Regions from separate parts of the Homo sapiens genome. Here regions 2, 3, 4 and 5 are each linked to region 1. Evidence: promoter capture Hi-C in 16 types of primary human blood cells and fetal thymus (Javierre and others, 2016). All regions are on one chromosome and are shown on one strand. Each heading gives the region's core, a stretch centred on a gene start or on the middle of the fragment in contact. The rest is flanking DNA. Distances are from core to core; before and after follow the strand shown.

Evidence for each region. Contacts are between HindIII fragments. The CHiCAGO score rates a contact against its expected background, and 5 or more counts as called.
Region 2: a contact is called between a fragment that was not itself captured here and the fragment with the promoter of CABYR in region 1, in 1 of 17 cell types (total CD4 T cells). The highest score is 5.1, in total CD4 T cells.
Region 3: a fragment that was not itself captured here is called in contact with the fragment with the promoter of CABYR in region 1 in 1 of 17 cell types (total CD8 T cells); the score reaches 5.2 in total CD8 T cells.
Region 4: a contact is called between a fragment that was not itself captured here and the fragment with the promoter of CABYR in region 1, in 1 of 17 cell types (naive CD8 T cells). The highest score is 5.9, in naive CD8 T cells.
Region 5: a contact is called between a fragment that was not itself captured here and the fragment with the promoter of CABYR in region 1, in 2 of 17 cell types (non-activated CD4 T cells and total CD4 T cells). The highest score is 5.8, in non-activated CD4 T cells.

The regions. Positions count from the first base shown.
Region 1 is chr18:24,136,569-24,141,320 of GRCh38, reverse strand. CABYR (calcium binding tyrosine phosphorylation regulated) reads right to left here and starts at 2,259. Exons shown (of 6, transcript NM_153769.3): 1 at 2,203-2,259. RefSeq lists an enhancer at 2,615-2,674. The HindIII fragment of the contact is 10,284 bases long and covers 1-4,752 here.
Region 2 is chr18:23,707,402-23,711,981 of GRCh38, reverse strand. All of the region lies in intron 1 of LAMA3 (laminin subunit alpha 3), which reads right to left. It also overlaps the pseudogene RPL23AP77. Among named protein-coding and RNA genes, the nearest start is that of LAMA3, 20 kb to the right of the region's middle. The HindIII fragment of the contact is 867 bases long and covers 1,037-1,903 here.
Region 3 is chr18:23,638,116-23,642,632 of GRCh38, reverse strand. ANKRD29 (ankyrin repeat domain 29) reads left to right here. Exons shown (of 10, transcript NM_173505.4): 4 at 3,686-3,784. Among named protein-coding and RNA genes, the nearest start is that of ANKRD29, 23 kb to the left of the region's middle. The HindIII fragment of the contact is 9,898 bases long and covers 1-4,517 here.
Region 4 is chr18:23,784,247-23,789,006 of GRCh38, reverse strand. The region is part of intron 12 of LAMA3 (laminin subunit alpha 3); the gene reads right to left. Among named protein-coding and RNA genes, the nearest start is that of LAMA3, 97 kb to the right of the region's middle. The HindIII fragment of the contact is 1,607 bases long and covers 1,551-3,157 here.
Region 5 is chr18:23,806,788-23,811,383 of GRCh38, reverse strand. LAMA3 (laminin subunit alpha 3) reads right to left here. Exons shown (of 75, transcript NM_198129.4): 13 at 881-1,018. Among named protein-coding and RNA genes, the nearest start is that of LAMA3, 120 kb to the right of the region's middle. RefSeq lists an enhancer at 895-954. The HindIII fragment of the contact is 8,791 bases long and covers 1-4,596 here.

The DNA.
Region 1 (4,752 bases), core at 1,010-3,509:
GTTACAACAATTATAGAAGGGCACAGCTTCTATTATAAAGTAACGAATATCTCATAGCAAAATGTTCAATACTTAAAAACACATCTCATCTTCCCAAAGGTCAGGACAAAATGAATCTGTACTGGCCAAAGCAAATCCTTTCAGTATATAATTAAGTATAATTGAATCCCTTAATGAAAACTTCCTTTTACGATATCATTCAACAGATTTACTGAATTAAACCATCTTTAAAAAACCAGAAGTGATCCAGCAATCCCACTGCTGGGTATATACCCAAATGGAAATCAGTATACAGAAGAGATATCTGCACTCCCATGTTTGTTCCAGCACTGTTGACAATAGCTAAGATTTGGAAGCAACCTAAGCGTCTATCAACAGATGAATGGATAAAGAAAATGTGGTACATACATACAATGGAGTACTATTCAGCCATTAAAAAAGAATGAGATCCTGTCATTTGCAACAAAGTGGATGGAACTGGAGATTATTATGTTAAATGAAGTAAGTGAGGCACAGAAAGGAAAACATTGCATGGTCTCTTATTTGTGAGAGCTAAAAATTGAAACAATTGAACCCACGGACATAGAGAAGGATGGTTACCAGAAGCTGGGAAAGGTAATGGGGCCTGGGTGGGGGAGGGGGAAAGTGGGGCTGGTTAATGGGTATAAAAAATGAATAAAACCTACTACTTGAAAGCACAACAGGGTGTCTATAGTCAATAATTGTACATTTTAAAATAACAGAAAGAGTATAACTGGATTGTTTGTAACACAAAGGATAAATGTTTGAGGGGATAGATGCCCCATTCCCAATGTGATTAACATTGTATGTCTGAATCAAAACATCTCATGTGCCCCATAAATATATACACCTACTGTGTACTCACAAAAAAAGAATTTTTTAAAAAATCAGAAGTGGGGATTCCGCAGTCCCACATGCTAAATGCTAAGGGGCATAGGCAGCATGACATGTTTGATACATACATACTATTTGATACATATATATATTTGATACATACTCATATATATCATATGTCTAATTTTCTTTAAGTACCCAAAGTGAGTAGATAGACCGTTTTGAAAGTGGCTCCCAGAGGCCGGGCGCGGTGGCTCACGCCTGTAATCCCAGCACTTTGGGAGGCCGAGTCGGGCGGATCACGAGGCGAGGTCAGGAGATGGAGACCATCCTGGCTAACACGGTGAAACCCCGTCTCTACTAAAACAAAAAATCAGCCGGGCGTGGTGGCGGGTGCCTGTAGTCCCAGCTACTCGGGAGGCTGAGGCAGGAGAATGGCGTGAATCCGGGAGGCGGAGCTGACAGCCGAGATCGCGCCACTGCACTCCAGCCTGGGTGACACAGCTAGAGTCCGTCTCAAAAAAAAAAAAAAAGAATAAAAAAGAAAGTGGCTCCCAGAAACCATGATGGCGCCAACAACCTTTCAGGAGGCAGTTAGCAGTTGGTGCTACCAAAGGTGGGGACAGCGGCCATGCACTCCATGATCCCCCGTCCCACTAGTTCTCACCCCGACTTTGGGAACGTGTGGGGCCAGGGACGCTAAACGTCCTACAGTTCAGTTCCCCACAAAGAACTGTCCTAAGCAAGCTGAGAAAAGTCAACGGGTAAAATTGTCACAAACACTATTAGGGTTATTTAAAAGCGACAGCTTAATAATTCTTCCCAGATCTCTCCTATCACCAATACTGGTCCACCACTGGCGGAATTTAAATCCTGCCCCGCCCAACTGTAAACGTCCATGCGCCCACTACCACAAGGGTAACGCCTTAAGCGAGAAATACGATGCCTTTCAGGATGCCAGCGGGGACTTCGGAGCCATAGGTAACCGCACTCCCCGACCTCTCCCTAAAGAACCTCCGGGATGTGGGCCCCCGCTGTGTCAGTGCTCGTTTTGCGCTAGGTCTGTTTGGGAGAGACGGGAGTGAAATGTAGGAGGCTGGGCGTGCTCACATCGCCTGGACTTGTCCAAGAGAGGCGGGCGACGGACCCACCGAGGCCTCAGATTCGGCAGCTGGCCGTCTGGTCGCCGCACTCCCCGGTGTGGGCCGGGGCCGCCCCACAGGCCCCCCACCCCCGACTCTGAGGACCCTCCGCCTGCCCCGACGACCTCTCCCACTGCGAGAGACTCCCTGAGACATAATGGTCTCCGAGGCCGCAGGGTGCGCCTTTTCTCCAGATTCTCCCCACCTGCTTTCCGGCCGCGCTCTTAAGAGCTTCCTCGTTGCCCCCTTGCCGGCGGCTCCTGAGGAGACTTGGCGCTTGCGAGCGTTTTTATAGCCCCGCAGGCATCGGGGCGTGCATCACGAAGCTCCGCATCACAAAGCTCCGCACCACTCAAGGAGGCGGGGCCACAGCGGCCGCAGCCAATGGGGAGCCGAAAGCGACAAAGGCCATGATTTGGCCGGCGAGGGAGACTTATTTCCCCTTTTCTGGCTAAATCTGAACGGATTTAGGTGATTTCCCAACAAATAGCCAGGAGTAGCTCAAAGCGACTGCCTCTCCGTCTTTGGTCGTTGAGCTTAAAATTAGAGCTCGTTTGGAAAGAAAGTAAGAGATTTATGGCAGTGCTGTCTTGTCACTGCCTCGCCATTCCACACATTGCTCCTGGCCCCATAAACTATAGCTCTCTTCGGTCACCTTTAGGAATAATAATTTCTGCCACGTTGTAGACACACAGTGAATAATTGTATGCAACAGAGCACTTTTTCTTTTGTGAAACTCGCCTGTGGAATGGGAGTTCAGCATGAATCCAGAAACTTCCTGTTTCTCCACAGTTGAGATCAGACACCAACTATCCCCACAAAGCACACCGTCAGCAACAAGTCAAGGTGTTACTGTGTGTAACTTCAGCTCAATTTTACCAAACTAAAGGAATACTGCTTCATTTAAAAACGCCCACTCTGCCGGGCACGGTGGCTCACGCCTGTAATCCCAGCACTTTCGGAGGCCGAGGCGGGTGGATCACGAGGTCAGGAGTTCAAGACCAGCCTGGCCAAGATGGTGAAACCCTGTCTCTACTAAAAATACAAAATATTAGCCGGTCGTGGTGGTGGGTGCCTGTAATCCCAGCTACTCTGGAGGTTGAGGCAGAGAATTGCTTGAACCTGGGAGGCGGAGGTTGCAGTGAGCCCAGATCACACCACTGCACTCCAGCCTGGGCTACTGAGCGAGACTCCGTCTCAAAAAAACAAAAAACAAAACAAAAAAAACAAAAAAACGCCCACTCTCTGCTCTTTCACTCATTTAGGCTCAGGTATTTGGGCTGGGCTCTAAATAACACCATAATCATGATTATCAGAGTACAAGCAGCCTTAATTTTGATCCATCTTCAAATGTTTAAAAAGCAACTACTTTAAACCAAAGAGCATCGCCAGGGCAGATATCTGACCAAAAACAAAACAAAACAAAACAAAAACCAAACCAAAATAAAACAAAACCCTATTTTTTAATTCAGAAAAAATTAGGGCTTCCAGAGCACTTTGCAATAAAAGCAATGTTAAGGCCTCAGTCAGCATTATCTGGTGCCATTCATTAATCCACTTAATAATTATTTTACTGAGTGCCAGGAAAGCTCCCTCTTCTCGGGAAGTTTACATACTTAAAAAGGGAGAATTAGCGAGACTCCGTCTCACAAAACAAAACAAAAAAAAGGGAGAAATGCTTTTAGACTGAGTATGTTGGTGGGTCTGCAGATATTTTTCATCCTTCATCACTTGCCTCCAGCACCACTTTGGTAATGTAAATAAAAGTGAGATGAGGCTGTCATGATTTCTGATAGCTTGGTTTATAACACATTTAGGTGTCAGAGACATAATGAACTGAGCTACTGAAAATCCTAAGTACCTCATCTATGGTGTCTTTTGGAATTGGAGACATTTATGGTTTTTTTAACGTAACCTTGGTGGGTCATCTCAAACATCTATTAGGTGTAAGGTATTATGCAGAAATACCTGTAACTCAAAAAACAAGATTTTACTCTCCATTTCTTCAGTGACTGTTTGGCTGAGTCATTCTGAAATGCAAATTGTTACAATGTAAACATCTAACCAAGAATTTTCAAACCACTGCCCATCGCTGCTTTGATTTCTTGAACTCTTAATGATTTGATGTGGTTTCACAATCTTGGCTTGTGTTCATCTCCCTTTCAATCACCAGTATGTTATTTTTTGGTCACCAATGATTTAAAACGCAAATGTACCTTCCACTGCCCCTCTCCCACACCCCAAATCCTTACCCTATGGAAGTCCATGGTTGTGGGTGTGGCCTCTGCATACCTCTCGTATTTCATGTCTCACCATGTGATTCCCACTTGACCCTCCAGAGTCTTGAACACACATGTCGCTTATCACCTCTGTGCTTTTGCTCATTAGGTCCAAGGCCTTGGATGCTGCTCCAGCAAGTGTTTTCACCTGACTGCATCCTGCTTCTCCTTTAGAACTCATCTCAGAAATCTCCTACTTTAGGAAGCCAGTGGGTTAGAAGCATTTTCTCAGTGGCCCCATGATGTATGCTCTATGACTTATCCTTGCTATATAATTCTATATAATTCTGCTTGTGTTTGACTCTTCTCCCAGATTTACCAAATCCTTAACAAAAGATGAATAGGGCAATGTTTCTCTAATCCACATCACCTGCATAAGAAATCATCCCAGGAGCTTGTTAAAAATGCCTTCCCAAGCCCTACCTAGAACCTACCAAACCAGAATCTCTATGTAAAACACGGAAATTGACAACCAC
Region 2 (4,580 bases), core at 221-2,720, 430 kb after region 1:
TTTAATTATTATTCCTCAAAGTTTAGAAGATTTACATCTGGCTAGAAGCAAAATCTCTCCCCAAAATGGGAATGCTTATGATTTACATTTATCTCCATCTCCACATTATTGATGTGAGGAATGCAGAAGGTGCTTTCTAGGTTGTTAGAGTGATTCTCAATTTCAAAGTAATAATAATAATTAAGATGAAGATTTGTAGAGCACCTATTATGCACTGGGCACCACCCAGTTTATATTTTCATACTAAGATTATTATTATCACCTCTATTTTACAGATGAGGAAAGAGAGTGGAATGTTAAGTAATTTTCCCAAGAACCACACCACTGGTCAATGGTAGAATCAGGACCTAAGTCCAGAGTCCAGGGATAACAAGTTAACACTACCCTGTAACTCTCTAACAGCTACAACTCTGGTTTATTATACATCCATGCATAATCACTAACATACGTTATTTCCTGTAATTTGTTTTAAATGGTAGCCTTCACAGTAGCCTGAAGGTCTCTTTCATTTAGAATCATCTTAGCCTTTCTGCTGATATAGCAGTCCCTCTGCAGCTCCTGTCCATGTCATTCAGCAGACTAGGTAAGAACACAGGCTCAGGAGCTTTAGCACTCACGTTAGCCCTTGATCTCACAATTAGTAGGCACTAAAAACTATATATATCAAATATATATTTCAAGTCTGAGCAATAAATAATTTGAAAGCACATATTTAAAAAATAAGTGTATAGGCAAGACAGCATCACAGGTGTCAACACTGACATTTGGAAGTCTGACTGATATAATAGATACATAAGTTAAAGGTGAATTCCAAGGAGCGAGCTTTGCCCAGGTAATAAAAATGAGTCAAACTTTCTGTTTATTTCTAAGGACTATTGGAAAAAACCTTGACAGACAGCAAAGAATCTACAAAAACAACTTGTCAAACCAGTAATGCCCTAGATGATGGTTTTTCTGGATTAACTTTGTATTAGCCAAGTTTAGGTGATAAATTTTTTGCCATATAAAATAATTTCTAACAAAGAGTCCACAAGCTTAAGTTAAACATTAACAAGCAAAAGTGTAACATACACTTTCTGTTTGAAAAATAAAAAGATCAGTGTAAACATTGACTTTAAAAAGAAAGAAAAATTTATTCTAAAAATTTAATAATGTATTTAAAAATTAATAATTAGAAAGTTTGGCTTCTTTAAGTTACTCTTAAACGGTCAGGGTGAAAATTTTTTATTCAAATCGTTTTATTAAAGTATTCCTTGTCCTTTCTTTCATTTGTTTTACTCCTGAACTTTCAGTAATTTTTACCTTACATCTCAATGTCATATTTACTGCAAATCAACCTATATGAAGAATCAAAAAGAATTTAGTAGTGCCCTAAAGGAAATCAGACTGTGGATCTAGAAGTGAAAAAAAAAATCAGAAGAATGACTTTCTTAAGTGTTAAAACTCTTTGCAGCCTTCTTAATCATTTTTCTTGAGCTCTTCATGGAGAATTAAGTCGACGTGGACATGCTACCTAGATAAGTAGACTTGCGGTTGAAGAACTTTCTCAGGGAGGCCAAGGTTATGACTAATCCTGCAAGTAAAGCCTTGGCACCAAGCAACAAGGTTTTGAGAGAAGATAACCTCGTGGGGCTTTTTAAAAGGGCAATACCTGACAATACTTTTGAAAATCAAACTTGCGGTCTTTTCACAAGATGGCGCCGAAGGCGAAGAAGGAAGCTCCTGTCCCTCCTAAAGCTGAAGCCAAAACGAAGGTTTTGAAGGCCAAGAAGGCAGTGTTTAAAGGTGTCCACAGCCACACAAAAAAAGATCTGCACGTCACCCACCTTCCGGCGGCCCACGACACGGCGACTCCAGAGGCAGCCCAAATATCCTCGGCAGAGCGCCCCCAGGAGAACAAGCTTGACCACTATGCTATCATCAAGTTTCTGCTGACCACTGAGTCCGCCATGAAGAAGATAGAAGACAGCAACACACTTGTGTTCGTTGTGGATGTTAAAGCCAACAAACACCAAATCAAACAGGCTGTGAAGAAGCTCTATGACATTGATGTGGCCAAAGTCAACACCCTGATTAGGCCTGATGGAGAGAAGAAGGCATATGTTCAACTGGCTCCTGATTACAATGCTTTGGATGTTGCCAACAAAATTGGGATCATCTAAACTGAGTCTGGCTGGCTAATTCACCAGAAAAAAAGAAAGAAAGAAAGAAAAGACAATCAAACTTGTGGAGCAGAAGAGAAAAGAATCCATGGGACTTCTCAGATGGAAGATCATTGAGGAGGCTCTTTCCTTCCCATGAGTATCACTGGGACAGGCCACTTTATTTTTTCTGTAGCCATATCTTCCAACAGACGCTTATACCAACTTTACTGCTTCATGGTCATACACAAAATAAAAGGTCTTATATATTTATAAGTCTCTGCTATTTCTGACTCAACCTGGTGTTTTCCACAAGAATTGAAAGTAAAAAATGGGCAAGAGACAAGAACAAGAAGGATTTTTTTAAAGGCAGGAGAAAAAAACAGATGTATAACATTTGGAATAAACGAAATAAAACTGTTATTATTTATTTAAAGATAAAATTATTTACATTAAAACTCCACATGAGGCTGGGCACAGTGGCTCACGCCTGTAATCCCTACACTTTGGGAGGCCAAGATGGGCAGATTGCTTGAGCCCAGGAGTTCGAGAGCAGCCTCGGCAACATGGAGAAACCCCGTCTCTACTAAAAATACAAAAATAATAGCTGGGTGTGGTGGTGCCTGCCTGTAGTCCCAGCTACTTGGGAGGCTGAGTTGGGAGGATCGCTTGAGTCCAGGAGGCTGAGGTTGCAGTGAGCCAAGATCATACCACTGGACTCCAGTCTGGGCAACAGAGCAAGACCCTGTCTCAAAAAAAAAGAAAAAAGAAAAAACCTCCAAATGAAGCCAGGCACAGTGGCTTACACCTGTAATCCCAGCACTTTGGGAGGCTGAGGCAGGAGGATCACTTGAGGCCAGGAGTTTGAAACCAGCCTGGGCAACATAGCAAGAAAAACATTTTTTTTTTTTTTTAATTAGCCAGGTGTGGTGGTATGTGTTTGCAGTCCCAGCTACTTGGGAGACTGGGATGGATTGCTTGAGCCCAGGAGCTTGAGGCTGTAGTATAGTGAGCTATGATCACACAATTGCACTCCAGCCTGGGCAACAGGGTGAGAACTTGACTCTGAAAAAAATAAAAATAAAAAATAAAAAAAGAAAATAAAGACCCAAATGTATCTGCTAAAGAGAATTTTAGAAATACTGGGAGATTTTTAGCAAGGTAGCTGGATGTGACATTAAAATAAAAAAGTCATTGCATCTCTGTAGAGTAGCAGCAAACAACTAGAAAATTTAATTAAAGAGAAAATGCCATTTATAATAGTCTCAGAGAACATCAAGTATCTCAAAAGAAATTTGACAAATAAAAATTTTAAACAGTATTAACAGAATTTTGAAAATCTACATAAATGGAGAGTTAGCTAGAAGATAATATCAAAAACTTACCAATTCTCCCCAAATTAAGCTATAGAGACAATATTATGCCAGTGAAAACCTGAATAAGGACTTTCTTAAAGTACAGTAAGATAATTCTAAAATTTATATGAAACTTTAAAGGACCAAGATATTGCTGAAGAAGAAGACCGGGAGGAGGAAACTTGCCCTTCAAGGAATCGGGGCTTATTATGAAGCTATTGTAATTAAGGAAAGGCAAAATGAGACAAACAGACCTATCGGACAGAACAGGCAGCCCATGCATTTAAGAAGCTTTAGTATATAACATAGGTGGTATGTCAGACCGCTGGGAAAGGAAGGAATATTCTAGATCCAGGGGGAAATAATAAAATCAGAGTTCTACTCAAGTCGCAAATGCAATTCAACTTCAGATGAAGTAAGGACTTATATGTGAAAAATAAAACTTCAAACTCTCATAGTAGAAAAAAAGGTGTCTACCTTTTAGAACTGAGAGCAAGGAAAGGTTTCTTAACCAAAGATACAAAAAGCGTTGACTACAAAAGAAGAGATGGATAAATCTGACTATGTTAAAATTAAGAATTTTGCTTCCTTTAGCTGGGCATGGTGGCACATGCCTGTAACTGAGACACGGGAATTGCTTGAGCCTGGGAGGTGAAGGTTGCAGTGAGCTGAAATTGCACCACTGCGCTCCATCCTGGGCGACAGAGCAAGACTCTGTCTCAAAAAAAAAAAAAAAGAATTTTGTTTCCTTGAGCCCAGGGAGTTGGTGACAGCCTGAGCAACATAGTGAAACCTTGTCTCTACGAAAAATAAATAAATAAATAAATAAAATATGTATAAAGAAGTTTGCTTCATCAAAGACACCTTTAAAAAGTGAAAAGTTAAAACTAGAAGATATTTACAATGCAAAAGTGATAAATAGTCTCCAATGATGACTGCCATCAATTCCTTCTCTCTCTCTCTGTGCCTGCCATTTCACCCATCAAAAGGTGGATGCTGTTTGCCCTGGAGGCTAGTCTCTGCTCTTGAATCCAGACTGACTTGATTGTTTGCTTTGTTATAGCAGATGTGTCATTCTGGGACA
Region 3 (4,517 bases), core at 409-2,908, 500 kb after region 1:
CCAAGTGTTGCTCAGGCCCGTTGGGCTCATTCTGCCCACTTGGCCCAGCAGGTTGCACTTGGTTCACCCTACCAGCCCAGGTCCCATGCCTGCCAAGGGCAAGCCAGGTGTGTGAGCAAGCATGGGGTCCAGCCACTGCACACAACCAGGCATGCCAGCTGTGGCGAGGCAGGCAGCTCCAGCCACTGGCACAGGTGCCAGCTCTGTGTGAGGCTGTGGCTGGACCAGATGTACCGCAAGTGGCTTCCGCTGCAGGCACCAGGGAATGTAGTGGTGCCTGGGAGCTTGGAGATGCCAGGAACCGCAGAGCCCCAAAGAGGATATCATAGCCCTGGCTCAGGGAGCCCCTAGGTCTGGGCTCCCCAAAGGGCTGTAGCTCCTCTCTCCTCATTGCCTGCAATGTGGCAAGCAGAAGGCGTGTTTCAGCCCTGTTTGTGTTATAAACAGGGTCATTCGCCAGGTCCTAAATTCTTGTCCCGCATCCAAGAAGAATGAGGTATGCAAACAACTGGAGGGTGAACAAAGTGGAGAGGAGCTTCATTGAGTGACAGAACACCTCCCAGGAGACCCAAAGTGGGTGGCTCTTTTCTGCAGGCAGGTCATCCTAACAAGTGTTCAGCTCTCAGTGGAGAGGAGACCCATAGTGGGTAGCGCCTTTCCGCAGGCAAGTCATCCTGATGATCTGAGGAGACCCAAAATGGATAGCTCCTCCCGCAGCTGGTAGTCCCGATATCTGGGTCCAGCTCTCAGCAGAGAGGAGACCCACAGTGTGTAGTTCCTTCCTGTAGCTGGTAGTCCTGACCTCTGTGTCCTGCTCTCAGTGGACAGGAGACCCACAATGGGTAGATCCTTCCAGCAGCTGGTAGTCGGGACATCTTTTTGAATCTGGCTGAGTCAGAGGTTTTTATGGGCTCAGAAAGGAGGGAGTGTGTGCTGATTGGTCCATGGGAAGCCATGGGTGGGAACGTGTCTGCCTCTCACCATCAACATGCCATCCACGGCACCCAGGCTGTTCCTGCCAAGGGGCGCCTACAGGCCCACACCTAGCTGCCCTCAGCCCCTCAGCCTCCCTCCTGTGCTTGTCAGCACCCAAAGTCCGGAGGGGGCCAAGGTTGGGGGGCAAGGCTGGCATGTCAACACCACCTCAAGCATACACACCTCAAGCATGCTCTCCCCTAGCCAGGTCATGACAGACAGCACCCAGGCTCGGCTACAGCTTTGCTCCGCACTGGAGCAGGTGCCGGGAGTGGGGAGAGGCCAGGGAGCAGGAGCAGGCACTTCCAAGCCTGTGGGGGTAATGGGGGCTTCCCAGGCCCAGAGAGCACAGGGATGCCCAGAACCGGAGCTGCAGCTGGGCATGGCTGCTCCCGCACAGCCAACTCAATAGGGGATGGGGCTCCCACCTGCTTCCAGCTCCCACTGGACCTGAGGAGCATGCAGCCCCAGCTGCACCTCCCGTGTGGCAGCCTGCATCTTCGCAGCTGCTGCTCCAGACAGGCCACCACTGCCATCAGTGAGAAGTTAGGCAAGCTACAGCTTGAGTAAGGGGCTTTTTTTTTTCTAGACCACATTTAAAAACAGGCAAACAAGTGGGTGGATCCTGCCTGTCTCAGTGGGTCTTATTGTCCCCACTCCCATCCCACACATGCATGCACACACGTACATATTCACAGAGACACCCAGGCCCTTAAGAACAAGTTTTAAGCATGATCACTAGCTTATAGGCCAGGCTGTCCTCAGCTTTTCACACATGAGTGAGACCTACCATCTTAACAGCTTTGGGTAAACTATGGAAAAAGGGATTTCTTTTCACTGTGTCTGGTAAGGTGTGGTATTAGCTTTGTCCCAAGCTCCAAGCTCAGAAGTGAAGAGTACTCTATAGGAAAAATGTATGTTGCCCACAAGAATGGTTCATTATTTTGCTCATATTACACAGTGATTTGGGTACCAATCTTTGAGTAGACTTGTAAAAGTAGATAGGAAGGGAGGATGCTAAAAACTGTGTCTCAGAATGTCATGATCAGTTTAAATTTTAGAATCAGGATGTTTCTTGTTATTATGTCCCATTTTGAGAAATGTTTTGAGCTCATTTTGACTCTGGGCTTGCAATTGGAGAAGTTTGTGGGTGAATTACTTATTTTCCTTCTTGTACAAGTAGTCTTCCACTCTGGGGCGCTAAAATTTGTAATTTGAATTCTTCCCTGTATTAAGGAATGCTAGTGTTTACCAAACACTATACCAAATATCTTGAGTTTCCAAGGGCTGCTGTGACAAATTAACACAAACTAGGTGGCTTCGAACATCAGGAATTTATTCTCTCAGATCTGGAGGCCAGAAGTCCAAAATCAAGGTGTGGGCTGTGCCGCACTGCCACTGGAGGCTCCTGGGGGAATTCCCTTCCTTGCCTCTTCCAGCCCCTGGTGGCTGTCAGCACTCTCTCCTCAATGCCACAGCTCTCCAGTCTCTGCCTATGTGGTCACATTGGCCTCTCTCTGGGTCAAATATCCCTCTGCCTCACTTCAAAAAAAAATTTATTGTTTTTTATTGTGGTAAAATACACATAATGTAGACTTTACCCTCTTAGCCATTTTTAAGTGTACAGTTCAGTCTTATTAAATGCATTCATAATGTGGTACAACCAACATCATCACCCATCTATAACTCTTTTCATTTTGTAAAACTACACAACTCTGTATCCATTAAATAATAACTTCCCATACTCCCCTTCCCCCAGCCCCTGGCAACCAGCATCATACTTTCTGGTTCTATAACTCTGACTACTTTAGATATCACAGCAGGCTGGGTGCAGTGGCTCATGCCTGTAATCCCAGCACTTTGGGAGGCCAAGGTGGGCAGCTCACTTGAGGCCAGGACTTTGAGACCAGCCTGGTCAACATAGTGAAACCCTGTTTCTACTAAAAATACAAAAAATAGCCAGATGTGGGGGTGCACGCCTGTAATCCCAGCTACTTGGGAGGCTGAGGCATGAGAATCACTTGAACCTGGGAGGCAGAGGTTGCAGTGAGCCGAGATGGCACCACTGCACTCCATCCAGCCTCGGTGACAGAGCAAGACTCTGTCTCAAAAAAAAAAAAAAAAAAAATCACAGTAAAATCATACATAGTTGTTGGCCTTTTATGACTAGCTTATTTCACTTAGCATAATGTTATCAAGGCTCATCCATGTTGTAGCATATGTCAGAATTTCCTTTCTTTTTAGCTAAATAATAGTCCATTGTATGGATACATCACATTTTGCTTGTCTCCTCATCCATAGATGGACACTTCAGTGCTTCCACATTTTAGCTGTTGTGAGTAGTGCCTCTGCCTCACTCTTAGAAGGACACTTGTCATTAGATTTAGGGCCCACCCAGATAACCCAGGATAAGCTCTTCTCAAAATCCTTAACTTAATCACGTCTTTTGCCATAGAAGGTAATATTCACAAGTTTTAGGATGGGGACAGATCTTTTGAGGAGCCACCATTCATCCCATTTCACTAAGAATAAAGTTTTCCTTTCCTTTTGTCACTTCTCTGACCAAAAAATAAGAATCTGTTCAAATTTAGCCCCTTCCTAGGCTAGAAGTTTTCTATGCAAGGATATTGTTTTGTTTTCTTTGCAGATGTTCAAATCAAATGTAAGATAACCAAATGTCTTTTAAAACTAGCCTCTCCCTCTCTCCCAGTCAGGTACAACTGCCCTATTCTTTGCCGCCCAGCAAGGCCATAATGATGTCGTGAGATTTCTCTTTGGATTTGGAGCATCCACTGAATTTAGGACCAAAGTGAGATAACCTTCTTGATTTTGTATTATGTTGAAGAATTTCAGCAGCCATGGGTATTGCTTTTCTCCTCATCTATGGTACGAATTTATGTTTCCCTTTTTACAAGATTCTCAAACCTAAGTAAGTGGATTTCCTCAAGGTTACTTGTAGTGGTTCAGGGGTAGCTCTAAGGGTTCTATTCAAAACGTTACATTTTTACTCTGGGCTCACAATTGGAAAATTTTATGGGGAATTACTTCTATCCTTTCCTGAACTGATACCTTTCTACTGTAGAACACTAAATTTTGTAACCAGGAGGGATACAGTAGCAGTGGCTTTCTAACTTTCCCTGTTTCCATGTTCTTTTTCCCACTGAAGATTAATTCTGATACTATGATAGGAATTGTTGGAAGTATTAATCTGATCCTACTAGATCTGAGACATTTCTAAAGAGGGTGGTTTGGCAGACAGCTTACTTTCATGAGCTATCCTCACTGAAATACATAATACATAGCTACAGTTTACATAGTTGGGAAACTATATAGTGGTTCTTCCTTTAAAGAAGTAATTGGCTAGGCGCGGTGGTTCATGCCTGTAATCCCAACACTTTGGGAGGCCGAGGCAGGGGGATCACGAGGTTAGGAGTTCGAGACCGGCCTGATCAACATGGTGAAACCCTGTCTCTACTAAAAATACAAAAAAAAATTAGCCAGGCGTGATGGCACATGCCTGTAATCCCAGCTACTCAGGAGGC
Region 4 (4,760 bases), core at 1,105-3,604, 350 kb after region 1:
TGCCTTTTTAATTATTTTTAATTTTTAAGTATTGAGTTGTAAAAATAATATATCCATATATATGGATTATTTTATAATAATATATCCAGATTTTATATATTATATATATGTGTGTATATGATACTAGTGCCTTATCAGATATATGATTTGCAATATCTTTTTCCATTCTATGATTTATCTTTTCACTTTTTTGATAGTGCCCTTTCGAGTGCAAGAGTTTTTAACTTTGATGAAATCCAATTTATCTATTTTTTCTTTTGCTACTTGTGCTTTTGTTGTCATATCTAAGAAACAGTTGCCTAATTTATGGTTATGAAGATTTATGCCTATATTTTATTCTAAGAGATTTATAGTTTTAGCTCTTACGTTTAGTTTCTTCATACATTTTGTACTAATTTTTGTTTATAGTATGAGGTTGAATCCACTCATGTTTAATGTTATTATTGATAGTGTTGGATTTACCTTGGCCCTTTTGCATTTTATTTTCTGTATATCTCATGTATTTTTTGTTCCTCTATTCCCCCTTTATTGTTTTCTTCTGTATTAGATATTTTCTAGTGTAATTTTTACTCTGTTTCATGACTTTTTAATCATTTTTGAGTTACTATGTTAGTGGTTGCTCTAGGGCTTACAAAAAGAAATCTACATTAGTATCATATTGATTTAGTTCCAGTAAAATAGAGAAATTTTACTCTTATTTAGTTCTATTCCCTCTCCACCATTTTTGTACTATTGTTATTATACATATTATGTCTCTCTATATTAAAATCCAGCAATACATTTTTATAATTATTAATTTATATAATCTATGTTTTCTAAGGAAGATAATAGAAGAAAGGAGATCAAGCATATATTTATAGAGTGTCTTTATAAACTCTATTTATCCTTTCTAGTTCTCTTTATTTCTTCCTATAGATTTGGTGTCATTTTCTTACTCCAATACAGCTTTGTTCTCACCTATCTCCTTTGTGCTACTGTCAAACATATTACATTTTTATATGATATAGGCCCCATATTTATGTATGTATGTATGTATTTGTATATACAGTTCGTATACTTTCTGTTAAAATCAGTCAAGAGAAGAATGTATAAAAATATTCAATTATACTCTCTTTTGTAATTTTTACATGTTATTCAAATTATTATTTGATGGTACCTGTTTCAGCTTTAAGAACATCCTTTATTATGTCTATTATTTCTTATAAGTCAGGTTGGGTGAATTCTGTTAGTTTTTGTTCATCTGAGAAAGTCTTTACTTAGCCTTGATCATGAATAGTAATTTTGATGGATAGGAGATTCTTGGTTGACAGTTTTTCCACTTTCAGCACTTAGAATATACGCTCTCACTGCCTTCTTGCCTCTATTGTTACTAATGAGAAGTCAGTTGTTATTCTAACTGGTGTTCCTGTGTTCATAATGAGTCTTTTTTTTCCTGCTTTCAAGATTTTCTCTTTGTCTTTGTCTTTCAAAATTTTAATTATGATTTTAACTATAATATGTCTGGCTGTGTGGATCCCTCTGTATTTATGCTATTTGGAGTTCATTAAGCTTCTTAGCTGTATAGATGGCTTTTCATTAAATTTAGTAAGTTTTCCACCATTATTTCTTTGGCTATTTTTTTCTATTCCTTTTTCTCCTCTCTTTCTGATGCTCTCATTACCCATATGTTGTGCTTAATGGTATCCCATATTTCTTTCAGGTTCTGTTTATTTATTTATTTATTTGAGACAGAGTTTCACTCTTGTCACCCAGGCTGGAGGGCAATGGTGCGATCTTGGCTCACTGCAACTTCTGCCTCCCAGGTTCAAGCAATTCTCTTGCCTCAGCCTCCCAAGTAGCTGGGATTACAGGCGCCTGCCACCATGCCTGGCTAATTTTTGTATTTTTAGTAGAGACGGGGTTTCACCATGTTGGCCAGGCTGATCTCAAACTCCTTACTTCAAGTGATCCACCCCTCTTGGCCTCCCAAAGTGCTGAGATAACAGGCATGAGCCACTGCCCCCGGCCTGTTTATTTATTTTCATTCTTTTTTTCTTTCTGTTTTCAGACTGCACAATCTCTATCAATCTGTCATTAAGTTTGCTGATTCTTTCTTCTGCTAGCTCAATTTACTGTTGAGCCACTTTAGTGAATTTTTCATTTCAGTTATTATACTTTTCAACTCCAAAAGTTCCATTTGGTTATTTTGTAAAACAATTTCTATCTCTTTATTGATATTCTCTATTCAATTAGATGTTGTCATCATACCTTCCTTTAATTCATTAACCATGATTTCCTTTAGTCTTCTATACAGATTTATAATAGCTGCTTTAAAGTCTGCTAAGACTACCATCTGGCTCATTCAAAAGTGGTTTCTATTGTCTTCTTCTTCCCCTATGTATGGGTCACACTTCCCTCTTTCTTTGAAATTCTGCTATGCTCTACAAGTGGACACAGGTGGAGGTGGCGCCATGGTCTTCTCAGTTTTCCTCTCCCACCATAGATCCCTACTCTATGAGCCAGCTTGGGTAGGGTTGATTGGGATCCCAGAATTCTCAGCCTGAAGTGCCTAAGTTAGAGCTACTACCCTACAAGTGGAGGGGTGGTGGGTAAGAGAGAGCTGGTCCTCTTTGCTGAGCCCACCTGGAATAGGGCTTCTGCTATACAGGACTGCAGAAGGTTGAGAAATATCAGTGGCCTTCCCCTCCCAAAATGAAACAAACCATAGCCCCAAACTGGGGCACAGGATAAAGAGAGTGCCCATCTTCTTGGCAACACATATGGGTAGATCTTCTATAAAACAGATTTGGGGATGGATAATGAAGGGGGTCATGGCTGAAATGTCACAGAGACTCTCATTTCTTACCTAGATTCAAATTTTCTTAAGTAATTGTTTCTTCATTTGCTATATGCTCTTATGACCATTAACAGAGACTTCAAACAATTTTTTAAAATATTTTCACTGGTTAATTTCTGTTTTACTGAAAAGAGTATCTACCAACCTCCCTCCTCTGTTGTTATGGAAGTCCTTCCTCCCCTCTGCTTTGTCATGAATACATTCATGCATTTTCTACCTACCTTAAAATAAATTAGCTCTAGTAGTGGAGAAATGTGGAAAAGAGCATTCTTAAAGTGTTGTATTATTTATTCATTATCTTTGTATCCATAAACACAAGCTTTGTCCATATGAATAAGTTAGAATATTTGTAATTCATTCTACCAGAATGAATCTGAAGTTGTGGCTGGTAGAGAGGAGGAAAAAAAGAAACCCTTTGATATATTTTCAGCCACAAGAATGTTTTGCACACCAGGAGCCAGCAGGTAAAGGAAAGGTTTGGGGTATGGGATTCAGGCATTTAAACAAACAGGGAGATGGCTGGAAATGGGACTACAAGCTCTTAAAATGATGCAGAGGGAAGTATAGGTCAGGAGAAGAAAGGTGCAAGTGAATAGCTAACTTATGAACAATTACTTCCTCAGTTCTAAGAGCTTTACCTGTCAGTACATATGTAACCCTCACAACAATGAATTATGAGACAGGCACTATTTTTTGGAAACTGAGGAACAGAGGGGTTAAGTAACTTGCCCAAGTTGATAGCTAGTGCCACCCCTGCTCTTCACTACCTTGTCCTCCAGCTTAGGGGAGGGAGTTTTTCATGCTTACAGTTCCTTAGTGTGGCTGACCTTGCAGGTGAGATGACCTAATACCTATTCTAATATCCTCCAGTGTTCAGAGGCTGGAAAGCTAAAGACAGCACTTCTCAGACTCTGTTGGGGCAGGGCTCTGGATGCCAATTGGGTTTGCAAATTGGAAGTGTGTGAATAAGATTAGACCGATGGGAAATAAGGAGGAGGCTGCATCCTGTAGCTGGCTGAGCATTTATGCAGCTGTGCTCTGACTCTGGCTTCCTGGATGCCAAGAGATGAAGTCACCAACCATGGGCTTCCCATCCTTGCACTGGGACATAGCAGTCTGGGCTTAAAACCCAGCCATTCCATTGGAGGCCTCCTTGGAAGCCCAGCCTAGAGCCTGCTGCTCTGGCTCTTAACAACTCCTCTGGGCTAGCACCTAATTACCTATAATAAATCTCTTTCTTTTTATAGTGTCTGAAGTGGTGTTTTATTTCCTGCCTTGATCCTGGACTGATAATCTTCTCCTCTTTCTCCTCCCTTCCCCTACACCATTGTCTGCAGAAAGAAGAATAATGTCAGACAGTAGAAAGGAGGCAGGGGAGAATAATTTGGGCAAATTCATTCATTCATGTGTTCACTCACCCAGCATTGAGTGCATACCTGCCATGCTCTAGGGACCGGACCAGACACTTCCTCCTCCCACCTTCCATCCCCCCTTCAGCGACCCTTGCCGGGATGGGATACTAGGATACAAACAAGTGGGGAGGAGGGGGTTTGTGGTCTCATGTCTCTATGGTTTGCATGTGCTGTCCCCTCTCTCTAGAACACCCTGCCTCCTTCTGTCATCCACCTTCCCATCTTTCTAATCTTATTCACACACTTCCAATTTGCAAACCCAACTGGCATCTGGAGACCCGCCCCAACAGGATCTGAGAAGTGGTGGCAGGTTCCTAAATGCTGTTCAGATACCACCTCCTCTCCAGAGCCAGGATTTGAACCCAAACAGATTATTTCAGAGTCCATGTGCTTAACTACCAGGGAGGAGGCAGGGTAAGGTTGGAAAGAAGGGAAGTGACAAGGTCCAGGTAGGACCATCACATGTAACATCCATATATAAGCCAGGGGCCCATTTATTAAACTGCAAGCCA
Region 5 (4,596 bases), core at 112-2,611, 330 kb after region 1:
GTCAGTCCTGTCTTCAAAGCGCAGGAAGGGGTCTGAGAAACCACATTCTCCTGATGGATAGTCTGGGTCAGCCTTCCACAAACACCTCTTCACAGTAGCAAGAGTTCTCCGAAATTGACAAGAGCTACTGGTCTGCTCTCTGGCTGCACACACCAGGGAGCCCAGGGAAATTTGTGGACATCTCATTTCTGTCCCCTCTGCCATGGTACATGGGCAAGCCTTAATCTCTCATATCAACAGAGGGATGAATACCAACCACGTCCCACAGCTGCAGGCTTGGTTTTCATCTCCCCCTCAGTGCACTCTCTCCAAACTGCATAGACTCCAGTGCATCCCACCCGCCTTCCCCAACACTTGGGCTGAAGTACGATGACACGGTCCCCCAGAAGGCCAGAGGAGGGCAGGGAGAGAGGCCCGAAACACAGCAAAGGTCCTGCTAAGCCTGCTGGCAAGTGGATCTGTTAGAAACATTACAGTGCTGCCAGCATTAGCACCACAAGCTGGGAGCGAAAGAAGGCATGATGCCTCGGGACAGAAGACAACAAATGGCCCCTTTAACTCAAAGGAGTCACCTATGCCACAATGCTATCCACAGAAAACTGACATGTGAACCAAGAAACCCACATGTATAGCACATGGAAATTTACATTATTTTTAGTTAAAAAAATCATTTCTGGATTCCTTTGAGGGTACATATATGATATACGTGTTTTCAAACCAGACTTGAACAGGTGAGGAACCAAGCAGACTAGATCTGTGAAAGCAGGATGTGGGGGTGGCCAGTGGTGAGTCTGTGGGGGATTTGCAGGCTTCTCTGGGAGGCTGGCTGCACACACTTCAGAGAGGAACCAGCCCTCTAGCAATCTGCTGACTTTCCTACCTTGGCAGTGGGGGAAATCATAAGCTCCTGAGAGACACCTGTCACACCGCTGTCCTGTAACTCCTGGCCGACATTCACACTGTCCAGTCACTGAGCTGCAGGGCATCTGGTAGGATCCAAGGGCTGAACACCAGCAGGCTGGATGAAAGAATTCAATCAGACTTAGGCGGGGGTTGCAGGTATGGGAGGGGGAAGAACCACGTCCCGGAGCAGAGCATGAGGGTGGAGCCAGAAAGACCCAAACACAAATTCCAGCTCCACTTCTTATGAGATCGGGAACCTGAAACAAGCCACTCAACTGCTCTAAGCCTCAGTTTCTCCTTCCTTAAGTGGGAGTGACACTAATTTTTATTTGATAACTTGTTGTGAGGATTGCATAAGATAATACTTAAAAGAGCTTGGGACAATGCCTATCATAGCGAGCACTCAATAACTGCTAGTTTTTATTGCTGTCATGAATTTCATATTCAGCAAGATTTGCAGGTGCTGGGTGATGGTTTTGGGGATTCTGCTCACCTACAGAAACCAGTATTTGTAGGAGGAGGATGCAGGGAACAACTGATGGGGGATGTGACTCACTGGAGGGCCACTTTAATTCCATATCCCACTTGATATTCCATATCAAGTGCAAGCCATTCCAGGCCAGATCAGCCTACAACTGTCCCTGATCTTCTCTTTCCTCCTCTCTTTATACCTCTTTTCTCAATGTCTAGTGTAGTTAAGTAGTCATGGAAAAAATGGTGCAGGCAACATTGAAAAGGATGGGAAAGGCATCCTAGTTTCCTCCCTCCCCCAAGCTGTTACCATGATCTTTGGCTAAGTGATGAATAAACACGTGTGGATGGAGAGAACAGATGCTGGCCATTCATTCTCCTCTTGGCCCCCTTCCCACTGGATCAGGTCCCTACTAGTCTCTATGAGACTAGACTTCTATGGGCTGGAGTTGCACAAGGTCGTCCCCATTTGCATTGCAAAAACCCTTCTTCTGGAGAGGGATGAGCAGTGGAATTGACCTGACTGACTTCTCCGGCTGAAGAGTTCTACATCTTAAGAACTGAAAGAAACTAGAGAGAGCATCTCATTGAATCCCATTATTACATGGTGAAGTTCAGAAGTTAAATGGCATTTTTAAAGTCAATGGATTAGTCTCTAATAAAGGGCTTCAGTCTTTGGAGTCAGACACATCTGGATTCCAGTACCAGCTGTGCCACTTAACAGCCCTGCAATCACGGCTAGTTGCTTAGCTTCTTTAAGCCTCAGTTTCCTCTTCTGTAAACTGGAGCTGATAATAGCACCTACTTTATGAAGTTATCAGAGAATCATCAGCAATAAGGCATTGAGCACGATGCTTCGCACAGCCGAAATGCTCAGGAAGTGTTCACACTTATTAACATTATTATTCTAATTACCCAAGTCCCCCAGTGCTTGGGGAGGTGCTCTTTACACTTTCCCACACTGAATTAATGAAAATCAATGAATTAGTATATCTGACTTCCAAATTTTTATCCAGTGTAGTGTACACAGTAAAAGATACAACCTTGTTTGCAAGGTTTCAAAAATTCCATGCTAGTTGGAGCCTTAGGAAAGAAAAGATTCATAAGGTAAAGCCCCAGTTCTGGTAATTTATTTACAGGTAGCCTTGGAATCTAAGCCTTGGCGCATGGGGCCCCCACAGGGACGAGACCATGTTATTTTCATTCTCTGTGACAGCCCAGCCCATGTATGGTGAATTTCTCTGAAAGTGCTTTTTAGTAAATGATGGTGAACGACAGAATTTACCTGTGTTGTCATCAGAAACGTAAAAGAAACTCTCACTGATGGAGGGGAACTCGGCTAGTTTACTCACTTACAAATTACCTGGGAGTTTCAACAGGCTATGTGACTTGTTCAGAGAGACACAAGTACTTGCAGACCCAGAGAATTTACTATCATTTCACTTTCCTATTTTACAGTCATCCATCCAGCAGACATTGATTGAAGGCCTACTGTGTTCCAGCAGCACCCTTGCTAGGTGTTACGGTGGAGGTAAATACAAAAACACATATAGTTAGCCTTCCATATCTGTGGGTTCTGGATCCATGCATTCAAACACAGATCAAAAATATTCAGAAAAATACACAACTAAAAAATAACAAAAATAATACAAATAAAATAATAATGTAATATAACTATTTATGTAGCATTTACATTATATTATGTATTATAAGTAATCTAGAAATTTAATTTATATAGGAGGATGTGTGTAGTTTATTTGCAAATACTGTGCCATTTTATATCAGAGACTTGAGTATCCTTGCCTTTTGGTGCCCATGGATGGTCCTGGAACCAATCCCCCATGGATACTGGGTGTTGGGTGTTGACTGTATTCCCTGATCTCTAAGATCTAAAAATCCAGAACAAAGACTAGAGAATGACTGACATAGCATAAAGCACCCCCACAAGACACTACCCACTCCATATAAAGCGTGTCTAATGCTCCCCTAGCTATTGGCAGACAGAAGGACAAACACTCAGATCTCCTACTGCCATTTCCACCTGTCTTCTCTCATGGCCCATAGTCCCAGCTGGCCTGTCTGCAGAGGTTAAGTCTCTACCTAGTGGTAGAATTCTGAGGAAATGTTCTTGGGTTCTACAGTGGTTAATTTTGTGTCAACTTGGCTAACTATGTTGCCAAATGGTCAAACACTAGTCTAGATGGTGCTGTGAAGGTATTTTTTAGATGAGAGTAACATTTAAATCAGTAGACTTTGAGTAAAGCAGATTATCTTCCATCATGTGAGTGGTCCTCATCCAATCAGGTGAAGGCCTTAAGAGAAAAAGACAGATGTCCACCAAGGAAGAAGGAATTCTGCCTACAGATTGCCTTTGGACTCAAGATGCAAAATCACCTCTTGACTGCATCTCCAACCTGTTAGCCTACCTTGCAGATTTTGGACTTGCCAGCCCCTACAACTGTGTGAATCAAGTCCTTAAAATAAAACTCTCCCCATCCCTACACACACATACACACACAGACACACACACATACACACACACACACACACACTCACACAATATATATTATATGTACATAGGTAACTAGATAAGCTCTATCTACGTACCTATCTATCTATCTAGAGAACCCTGACTAATACAGATTTTGGTACCAAGAGAAGTATTCTTAGAGGACCAGAATTTTTTAAATTCATAAATACAGGTAGGGTCTCACTATGTTGCCCAGGCTGGTCTCAAACTCCTGGCCTCAAGTGACTGTCCCACATTAGCCTCCCAAAGTGCTGGAATTATAGGCATAAGACAATGCCCAGCCAGGAACAGAATTTTAAGAATAAATTCTCTGAATTGGTTTGGGGGTTTCTGGAATTGGTTCTCTAAATGACTAGATTTAGAAGCACTAATGACTCTAGTTCCAATAGTGAATAAAGCACTGATAGTCATCGGTGTGATGTGGTAATAGAGATACACAAAAATATCACTATTAGATACTCCTAATCAAATAATTATGATAGGCAAGGTTCTGGGTGACCACGTATTTGATAACGTAGAACATTTCCGTCAAACTAATGGGCATAATGAACTTGGCTGGTTGCTCCTAATTGGGCTGGACAAAGTGGGAAAGAAAAGGAGTTGAGGGATTTGAATTCCCACTCAGATGCAGCATAAATGACCTGAAAGTTTCTATGCCTTCCTAGAAAGAAATCCTTATCTCCTACAGCCTC